3 separate regions of the Homo sapiens genome follow, and regions 1 and 2 are each linked to region 3. Evidence: promoter capture Hi-C in 16 types of primary human blood cells and fetal thymus (Javierre and others, 2016). All regions are on one chromosome and are shown on one strand. Each heading gives the region's core, a stretch centred on a gene start or on the middle of the fragment in contact. The rest is flanking DNA. Distances are from core to core; before and after follow the strand shown. Region 1 overlaps DIRC3 (disrupted in renal carcinoma 3). Region 2 overlaps DIRC3 (disrupted in renal carcinoma 3). Region 3 holds the start of TNS1 (tensin 1).

Region 1 (3,143 bases), core at 337-2,836, 220 kb before region 3:
TTACACTTCTTAAACATGGTGTGTCCAGAGTTTGTTCCTTCTGATGTTCAGATGTGTCCTGAGTTTCTTCCAACTGGTGGGTTCGTGGTCTCACTGGCTTCAGAAGTGAAGCTGCAGACTTTTGCAGTGAGTGTTACAGTTCTTAAAGGCGGCGCATCTGGAGTTGTTCCTCCCTCCCGATGGGTTCATGGTCTCGCTGGCTTCAGGAGTGAAGCTGCAGACCTTCACAGTGGGTGTTACAGCTTATAAACGCGGTGCGGACTCAAAGAGTGAGCAGCAGCAAGATTTAGTGCAAAGAGCGAAAGAACAAAGCTTCCACAGTGTGGAAGCAGAGAGCGGGTTGCTGCTGCTGGCTAGGGCAGCCTGTTTTTATTCCCTTATCTGACCACCCCTCACCTACATCCTGCTGATTGGCCCATTTTACAGAGAGCTGATTGGTCCATTTTGACAGGGTGCTGATTGGTGCATTTACAATCCCTGAGCTAGACACAGAGTGCTGATTGGTGCATTTACAATCCTCTAGCTAGAAGTAAAAGTTCTCCAAGTCCCCACTAGATTAGCTAGACACAGCACTGATTGGTGCCTTTACAAACCTTGAGCTAGACACAGAGTGCTGATTGGTGTGTTTACAAACCTTGAGCTAGACAGAGTACTGATTGGTGTATTTATAATCCTTTAGCTAGACATAAAAGTTCTCCAAGTCCCCACCAGATAAGCTAGATACAGAGTGCTGATTGGTGCATCCACAAACCCTGAGCAAGGCACAGAGTGCTGATTGGTGCATATACAATCCTCCAGCTAGACATAAAAGTTCTCCAAGTCCCCACCTGACTCAGAAGCCCAGCTGGCTTCCCCTAGTGAATGCCGTGCCTGTGGGCAAAGCTGCCTGCCAGTCCCGTGCCCCACACCTGCACGCCTCAGTCCTTGGGCGGTCGATGGGACCGGGCACCACGGAGCAGGGGGCGGTGCCCGTCGGGGAGGCTTGGGCCCGGTGGGAGCGCAGGGAGGACGGGGGAGGCTCAGGCATGGTGGGCTGCAGGTCCCGAGCCCTGCCCCTCGGGGAGGCAGCTGAGACCCCGCGAGAATTGGAGCACAACACGGGCAGGCCAGCAGTGCTGGGGGACCCAGCGCACCCTCTGCAGCTGCTGGCCCAGGTGCTAAGCCCCCCACTGCCCAGGGCCAGCGGCACTGGCTGGTCGCTCCGAGTGCGGGCCCCCGCCCACCCAGAACTCACGCTGGCTCGCAAGCACAGCGCGCAGCCCTGGTTCCTGCCCGCGCCTCTCTCTCCACACCTCCCCACAAGCAGAGGGAGCCGGCTGCAGCCTTGGCCAGCCCAGAGTGGGGCTCCCACAGTGCAGGGGCAGGCTGAAGGGCTCCTCAAGCGCGGCCAGAGTGGGCGCCGAGGCCAAGGAGGTGCTGAGAGGGAGCGAGGGCTGCTAGCACGTTGTCACCTCTCACCATCTCAAGACCTGGACCCCAGCATGCTCCTACCCCCACACTATCTACACCATTCTGGATAAGCCCAAAGTCTTTGGAAGCAGATAGAGATGGATTTGAATCCTTATGCAGCACTTACTAACAGAGTTGTTACTTACCTTCTCCGAGCCTTGGTTTTCTAATCTGTGAAATGGGAGTGATCACGGCCACCATTTTGAGTTTTTTGTAAGTGACATCCTGTGCATCTCATGCAGGGCCCAACAGTATCATAGACAGCCAGTAAATGTTACTTGCCTCCCACCATGTCACATGAGCACTGTGCTCGGCATTCTATACACAGAATTGTGAATATCCACATAACTTTGTCAGCTAGTTATTACTGGCCCATTTTATAGACGAAGAAACTGAGGCAACAAGAGGTCAAATAATTTGTCCGGGATCACATAAGTGAGAAACTAGCAAAGCTGACACTTGGGCCCATATTGGATGGATGTGAAGGCAAATCCTGCTCTGCCTGGGCACTCTGCCCCCATGTTCTGCCTGCAGGTAAAAGAGAGTGTTTTACTGTCCTTGTTTTCTAATAGGCTTCTCAGTGCTTTGATCCTACCTCTGCAGAAGCACCCACTACCACTCCTTTTAGGGAAAAGAGGACTATTTACTTTTTAATTTTACTTTCAATCAGTCAGATTCAGTTCCACGTTCATAGAGACTTGGGGTAGTTCAGTGAAATCAGAGCCTGGGTGTCCTTGGAGAAAGGTTGATGTTCATGCTCACTCTTTTTGTGGGGGTCATTGACTCTGAAAAAGAGGGAAGTCTAATAACTGAGTCTGGGAAATAAAGATGCCTGCATTTCAGGTTCTCTGACCCAGATCCCGGAGGATGGGGAGCAGCTGTTTCCATCTCCGCAGGTGCTAGAACCTCTAGGAATGTAGTCACTTGGAAGGGGAGAAGCAAGAGTGAGTGGAATAGAACTTCCAGAGGTCAAATCACCCGAAAGGTCCAGTGGAGCTGAACACTGCACCGTCTGCCACAGGAGAGGCGCTCACCTGCCCTGCCAAGCAGCAGGCCGGCTGCAGGGGAATGGACAGGTTGGCCTTGCAGACTCAGCGAGCAAGCACTAGGGCATGGGCTATGCAGGGCTGTGAGAGGGCAGCCCAGAGACACCCAGGTCCCAAAGGCCCAAAGAACGGGACATGGGGGTTTTGAGAGGGGAAGGATCTTGCCTAGGCCCCGTTGTGTCCAGTGCCCCTTCTGCTGAGCCACACCCTGGAGCCCTGGAGCTCTCTGGCTCCTGCCACTGCTGACTGCCTGAGTGGTGGTCATTGAGAAATGATTGAGAAAATCTGGGCCAGGTCCAATCCGCCACGAGGGATGATTGATAATGGGAACAGAGACTGTGGGTCTCCGTCCTCACCGCTGTACTGAAGCTTTTAATAATCAGCCTGTCTCTAAGTACCTGAAGACTCTCGGCTTCCAGCTGTCTATTAATTGTGCCTCTCAGGCCCTTGGACAGTTGATTCAGCCTACTGCCCACTGTGACCGCTTCCAGGAAAGGCAATGAGTGGCTGCGGTTCCCAAGTTGGCCACTAGAGGGAGCCGTAGCCCGTGGCAGCTCTGCCTTAACTGGCGGGGGAGAAGAAAACCAAAGGGTCACAGAATCCCTGCCTGTATGGACATCCCAAAGTCCTCCCTTAGCTCTCCCCAGT
Region 2 (3,155 bases), core at 555-3,054, 230 kb before region 3:
AAGGATATGTTGTAATGCTTAGAACAATGACAAAAATAAAATTTAAAAAAACAAAGAGGTATAGATTAAAAACTAATAAATACATAAAATGAATTTAAAAATGCTTGAGCAATCCAGAAGAAAGCAGAAAAACAGGAAAAGAGAAACAAAAAATAAGTGACACAAACATAAAACAAATAACAAAATGGCAGACCTAAGTTTAAGCATATCAATAATTATATTAATTATTAACGGTCTCAACATCCAAATGGAAACACAGAGGTTAGAGAAATGCATTTAAAAATAAACAATAAAAAACATAACCCAACACACTTTAAATATAAAGATAGGAATAAGTTCAAATTAAATGAATGCAAAAAGATATATTATGCAAACCATAAGAGAGCTAGATTAGGTATATAAATATCTGATAAAATAGAATTCAAGATAGAATAGTACCAAAAAATGAAGAGGGAAATTTTATAGTGACAAAAGGATCAATTTATCAATGAGACTTAATAACCGTAAATGAGTATAGATCTATCAACAGAGCCTCAAAATACATGAAACGAAAATTGACAGGATTAAAAGGAGAAATAGAAAATTCCATAATCACAATAGGTTTTTAACACCTCTCTCTCAGCAAGCGATAGAGCAACTAGACAGAAACATCAGTAAAGATCTATAAAAATAATGGTATTATTCAGGAATCTGAATAATAATATTCGCCATGTTGACCTAACTAATAGTTACAAAACACTACCTAACAACTGCAGAATACACATTTATTTCAAGTGTGCACTATGTGTTTGCTGAGATTTACCATAGTCTGGGCACAAAACAAGTCTCAATAAATTTAAAAGAATTAAAATCATACAGAATATTTCTCTAACCACAACCAAATTAAATTAGAAACAAATAAAAGTAAGATAGGCAGAAAAACCCAAAGCTTGTGATAAGATTCTTAACACACTCAGCAGAATGTTTAAAATTAAAAAGACTGACAATACCAAATGTTAGTGAGGATATGGAGCAACTGGAACCTTCATGCATTGTTGGTGGAAATGAGAAATGATACAACCACTTCCAAGAAGTGACAGGATTTTTTTTTTAAGTTAAACAGCATACTCTGGTTTTTCTTCAGATTGCATAAATCTTTTACCTTTCACTAAAATTTTAACATACACCTACCATATGACCCCACCAGCCCATTTCTAGGTATTTACCCATGAGAAATCCACGCATTTGTCCACAATAAGCTCTGTATGTAAACGTTCACAGAAGTTTTATTCTTAATAGCCAAAACACTGGAACCAACTTAAATATCCATCATTTAACTGAATGAATAAGCAAAAAATATAGTATATTTATACAAAGGAATACTACTCAGCAAGAAAACAGAACAAACTACTGATAAACACAAAAGCATGGAAGAATCTCAAAATCAGGCAGAGGAAAAGAAGGCAGAAATGTATATATGGATGGATGGATGGATGGATAGATAGACATACACACAGACATATATCTAGTATTACTCCATTTATATAAAATCTTTAAAAAATGAAGCATGTAAAGGAATAGAATCAGTGGTTACCTGGGACTCGGAGTAGAGGGAAGGGTGTACTGTAATGGGACATAAGGAATCTTTTGGGGCGGATGGAAAAGTTTTGCCTCTTGATTATGGTCGTAGTTTCGTGGCTATATACAACTGACAAAATAGTGTGCCCTTTAAGTGAATTCAACTTATTGGGTGTTATTTACACCTCAAAGATGATATTTTTAAATTTCAGCACAAAAAATTAAAAATGGGATCAAGTGGGATTATTCTAGGAATACCAGGATAACTCCTTAAAATCCATTAATACAGTTTATTATGTTAAGAAACAATAAAACGTGATTATCTCCATACATTCTGGGGGAGCATTTGATCAGATTCTGCACTCATTCTTGATATTTAAATTTAAAAGCAAATAAAATAGAAATGTGTGGATATTTCCTTGACATGATAAAATGTTTTGAATAGAGAACTACAGAAGCTATTGATGTTAAAGTCAGAAATAAGACAATGATTACTATATTCACTTCCTATTGCTGCCACCACAAATTTAATAGCCTAAAACAACACAAATGTATTCTCTTACAGTTCTGGAAGTCAGAGTCTAAATGGTCACACTGAGTTAAAATCAAGGTGCCAGCAGGGCTGCATTTCTTTCTGGAGGCTCTAGGAGAAAATTGATACACTTACCTTTTTCAGCTTACTAAAGGCTATCTGCATTCCTTGGTTCATGGCTCTCTTCCATCTTCAAAGCCAGCATTTGCATCATTCTGACCTTGGCTTCTAACATTGCATCTCCTTCTCTGACTCTTACTCTCCTACCTGCCTCTTACAAGGACTCTTGTGATAATCTTCCCATCTCAGGGTCCTTAACTCAATCACATCTGCAAAGTTCCTTTGCCATGTAAGTTAACACATTCACAGGTTCCAAAGATTAGGACATGGACGTCTTTGGGGTGGCCATTATTCTGCCTACCACACTTACCAAGTGCAAATGCGGCCAATAATCAGGTAGACAAGATGGCCTATTCAATGGATCTCCATTGACCTCTTTACCCAGACACCCCAGTATTTGCTCAATGGGCTCACTAACAACGTGGCCACAATAGCAGGGATGGAGGTTACACAAGGGCTTGGATTTCCCTTTAAGCTTGATCCAGCTTCCACTATTGCTGAGTACTCAGCTGCAGAGACCAATACTGAGTGCCCAGTACAGTATGTAGCCACCCTATTAGACACCTTCCATCATGGAGGAGGAAGCAATTTACCCTTGCTGGAATAGACATTTCCTGGAATATGCATTTGTCTTCTCTGCCTGTTGTAGTTTGACTAAAAGCAGCATCTATGGACTTTCCGAATACTTGAATTACCCTCCCAATCCCTTGCAACATTGTTTCTGTCCAGGAAAAATAATTTTAAAGCAATGGATGATAGGCTTATTTCTACAGCATACACTTGTCTTATCATGGAACCTCATCATCCCAAAGCAGGTGGAGTAATAGAACAGTGAACAAACCTGTTGAAGGCTCAATCACAGCTCCAATTTGGACTCACTCAACACCTTATGAGAGTTGGGTGTCATTTGCAGCATGCAGTATATACTCAGAACTGGAGACTAATA
Region 3 (3,495 bases), core at 104-2,603:
GGCCTCCCCAGTCACTCTCAATCTATTAATCCAATCCATCCCAGCACCCCAGCCCAACATGCCACCCAAACCGCCTCATTCCAGGCCCCCTCCCCCACCCTTTCTTTCTTTGCCCAGAGGACACCTGGCTGCCCGAGTTTGTGTTCCCACAACTGCCCCCAGCATGGGCTTGCCTGGGCCAAGAGGGCCCTCCCGAGGACTGGCCAGAACAAGGAAAGGGACAGGAAAGGCCACATCTGGATCACAGCCCTGAAGCCCCCTCCCCCAAACCAGCCATCACTCTCTCAGAGCCCAACAGTAACCTCAGCCAGGGACGACTTCCTCACCCTCCTGACCCCATGCATGCCTTTGCCTGGCCAAGACAGCCCCACAGGAGCCCCTCTGAGGAAGGGGTCCTCTCCTCCTCTGACCCCCAGCCCTTCTGCAGCAGGCAGCCCTCTCCCATCCCCCTTTACCCAGGAGCCTCAGCCCAGGTCTGGCCTTAAGACTTTTAACCTTCACCACGTGGCCCCCAGGCCTCTCTGCTGGCCCCCCTGGCATCCCCATCCTGAAACCCACCTCCCTGAACCTGGAGCCAAGAGAGAAAGGGGGAAGAGCGGGCCATGGCTCCCTCCTCCAGGATGGAGAGGTCTTGGTAGCAGGGGAGGGCTGTGGAGGAAGGGATGGCAGTGGGTGGAAGCTGAAACTGGGTGTAGAAGGAATAAAAGGGATGGACTCTGAGAATTCTCCCACAGCCCAGCTCTTCCAGACTTAATATTTTGGACTACTATTCTTTGCTCCCCAGCCCCACCACTGCCTCCTCCTCAAGATCTTGGGCTCAGCAACTGAGGGGGGGCGGTGAAGAATTTTCACCCCATTGTAGGATGCAAGTCGGGAGGAAAGGCTCTAAAGAGAAGCAAACTTCTCTGTGGCCTCCTTCCACTTACAGCTCTGGGACTCCATTGGGGGGTGGGGGGGTGGGGCAGGGGATGTACTGACCCGGGACCCTGGGCCTGGGCCCTGTTGGTGGGGAAAGTCTTCCGGCTGAGGGTTGCTCAAGTCAGTCTGTCCTTCTGTAGGTCAGAGACAGAAAGGCCCCTCCTTCAAGACTGACACCCCCCGACCCCGGGCTCTCAGCAAAAGGATAAGGTGGCAGGGGCCGGTGGGGGGCGGGGGGTTTGAGGAAGAGTAACGTCGCAGCTAAAGCAGCCAGACCTACCCAGAGCATGCAGGACAGACAGATCCACGTCATCTTTGCTGGGTCCCGTCACTGAGGCACGCCCAGGGCCTGTGAAGAGCCCCTGAAGCTAGAGTCCCCGCGGCGCTGGCAGAAGGGCTCTCTGAGTCCGCGGCTGCTCCGGCTCCGCCAGCATCTGCTGGGCCTCTCGCCCTGCTGCCTCCAGCTCACCCTCCCTCCTCCTCCTCCTCCCCCCACTCCACCCCTCGTCCCAGCCTCCTCTCTCCTCCCTCCTCCCAGGCTCCACCGGTGGCCTTGAGGGTCAGGAACCCTGCTTTGCAGGGGGTGTAAAGGGGACAGGGAAAAGGGAAAGCTACCAGAGGCAGGGCCCCCCCAGGCCGTGCCCCCCACCCCCGGACACACAACCCCTGTGTGCCACCAAGGCTCCTCAGTCTTCTGATCTGGTGCTGGTAGGCCTGGAGTCCTCCCTCCTCACTGCAGACCCCCGCCCCTGGCAAACCAGCCTGGGGGCCTTCACTCCTGGAACCCTCCAGACCACTGATGGATGAACAGACAGCCCCAGGCCCACACAATCAGCACACTCAGGGTGCCTTGGCCCCTCCCCTTCTCTGAGTACCCGTGCCTGCCTTCCTGGCCTCCTCGGAACACACATGCATTTGCACACACAGACTGGGACAGACTCTGGTGCCCACGCGCCAAGCTCAGAGCCCAGGACAGGCCTTAACACAGAAGAAATAGGGCCCGAGACTGGGGAAGAATGGCCCTGCCCCCAGGCTGTGGGTTTCATTCCAATTTTTTTCCTATTTCTTTTTTTTTCCCCCTTCTTTCTTTCTTTCCTGCAAACATCTGTCCCAGCCTTTCCTGCCCTTCTGAAAGGGAGCCCCGCTCCAGGCTCCCGCGAGAGTGTGTTTTTCTTGACTGTACCCGGGGCCAACATTTGGTTTGCATTTCCCCACTTCCTCCCCCTCCTCCCCTCTCCCCCTCCCTGGGCCCAGTTCTCCCCTCCCACCATTCCACAGGCCTATTTCTTCCCCTCAGTGTCCCCTGCCCACCAGCCCTCCCCTCCCCTCGCCCCCACCTCTGCCCAGGGACAATTGTTGGGGGTCTAGAGGGTGGAAAGGAGGCTGGGTCAAAACCCAAAAGTATTCCCACGGAGCACTAAGGGGGAATCCAGCAAAGTCTGCCCCAGGCCTTCATTGTCTGGAACCACCACGTTCCCCTCCAAAAAAAACCCTTCCTCTTTGAGCTCTGGCCTTGGCTGGACCAACTGAGGGTGGGTGGGGGCCAGTGAATCACCCGCTCTGTTCTTTGGAGCTGTCCAGGAGAAGGAGGGAGGGCTCAGCCCCACACCCTCCTGTGGACACACACACACACAAGGACACAGTCCAACTCACGTCAACACATAAGAGCCCTCCCAGAGTAGGCACTTGGAGACCTCGTTCCTAGACTGAGTCACTTAGCAAGAAAAGTTCTCTTGCCTGGCCTCCTATGCACACTGTGCTATACATGCCCTGGGGCCACATGCACGAAGGGTTACAGATCCCCTGCCTCCCCCCCCCACTCACCCAAGGCCATGCCATGCCGCTGTCTGTCAGCACCACATACCGTGCAACTACCAGCCTCCTCTTTCACAGGGATCTGCCCAGCCACTTGTGCCAACTCCCAGCCCAGGGACCACCCAAGACATCTACCTGGGAAACCCCAGAATGAAGGGGAAACACTGACTCTTCATCTGAAAAAAAGACTGCAGTATTCAGATACACAGGTTGTCCACAGCACAAGGGACTAACCATCTATTGTTTGGTGGTTCTGAGAAGTCAGGGGAGGACACTGAAGTGAAGTGTCAATTTCCAGCCCTTCCTAAAGCAGGTACCTGAGTGAAGAGTCTTTGTTCCGGTAGAGGAGTCAGGGTCCTCTCTCCATACTTCTCCAAGTCCTCCAGAGCTCTGGGGCTGGGAAAGATCCTGCCTCTAGTGTCCTTCCCTGCCAGGATCACAATGTCCCTCTGGACCCCCTACTCTAAGCCTCCTGGGGCTTCACTGACATTTTAGCCAACGCTGAAATGAACCAGTGTTCCACATGCAGTTGGCCCTGCAGTCACAGCTGGGGATGTCCATAGACAGAAACCTCTGCAAACCCTCCCGTCTCCCCTGGCTGGAGCACCAGGCAAGCAAAGGGGAGTGGTCTTCAGGAGGCCTCTCTGAGAGCCCCTGAGCCCCTCCTCAGCCACTATCACCAGCTCTGCCAGGCTGCCCTTGTCCCCTGACAAGTTCAAGCCTTCAGCCAGCTAAGCCCTGACATCCCAGTGCCCACTCACA

Evidence for each region. The method cuts DNA at HindIII sites, captures the fragments that hold promoters and counts their contacts. A CHiCAGO score of 5 or more calls a contact.
Region 1: a contact is called between a fragment that was not itself captured here and the fragment with the promoter of TNS1 in region 3, in 11 of 17 cell types (megakaryocytes, naive B cells, endothelial precursors and 8 more). The highest score is 19.1, in megakaryocytes.
Region 2: a fragment that was not itself captured here is called in contact with the fragment with the promoter of TNS1 in region 3 in 4 of 17 cell types (megakaryocytes, endothelial precursors, total B cells and 1 more); the score reaches 6.8 in megakaryocytes.

Annotation. Positions count from the first base shown.
Region 1 is chr2:217,786,355-217,789,497 of GRCh38, forward strand. The region is part of intron 1 of DIRC3 (disrupted in renal carcinoma 3); the gene reads right to left. Among named protein-coding and RNA genes, the nearest start is that of DIRC3, 2.5 kb to the right of the region's middle. The HindIII fragment of the contact is 2,552 bases long and covers 311-2,862 here.
Region 2 is chr2:217,768,055-217,771,209 of GRCh38, forward strand. The region is part of intron 2 of DIRC3 (disrupted in renal carcinoma 3); the gene reads right to left. Among named protein-coding and RNA genes, the nearest start is that of DIRC3, 21 kb to the right of the region's middle. The HindIII fragment of the contact is 1,756 bases long and covers 927-2,682 here.
Region 3 is chr2:218,001,642-218,005,136 of GRCh38, forward strand. It overlaps TNS1 (tensin 1), which reads right to left and starts at 1,354. Exons shown (of 33, transcript NM_001387777.1): 1 at 1,199-1,354. The coding sequence starts at 1,231. RefSeq lists enhancers at 1-298, 299-799, 2,540-2,639. The HindIII fragment of the contact is 26,666 bases long and covers 1-3,495 here.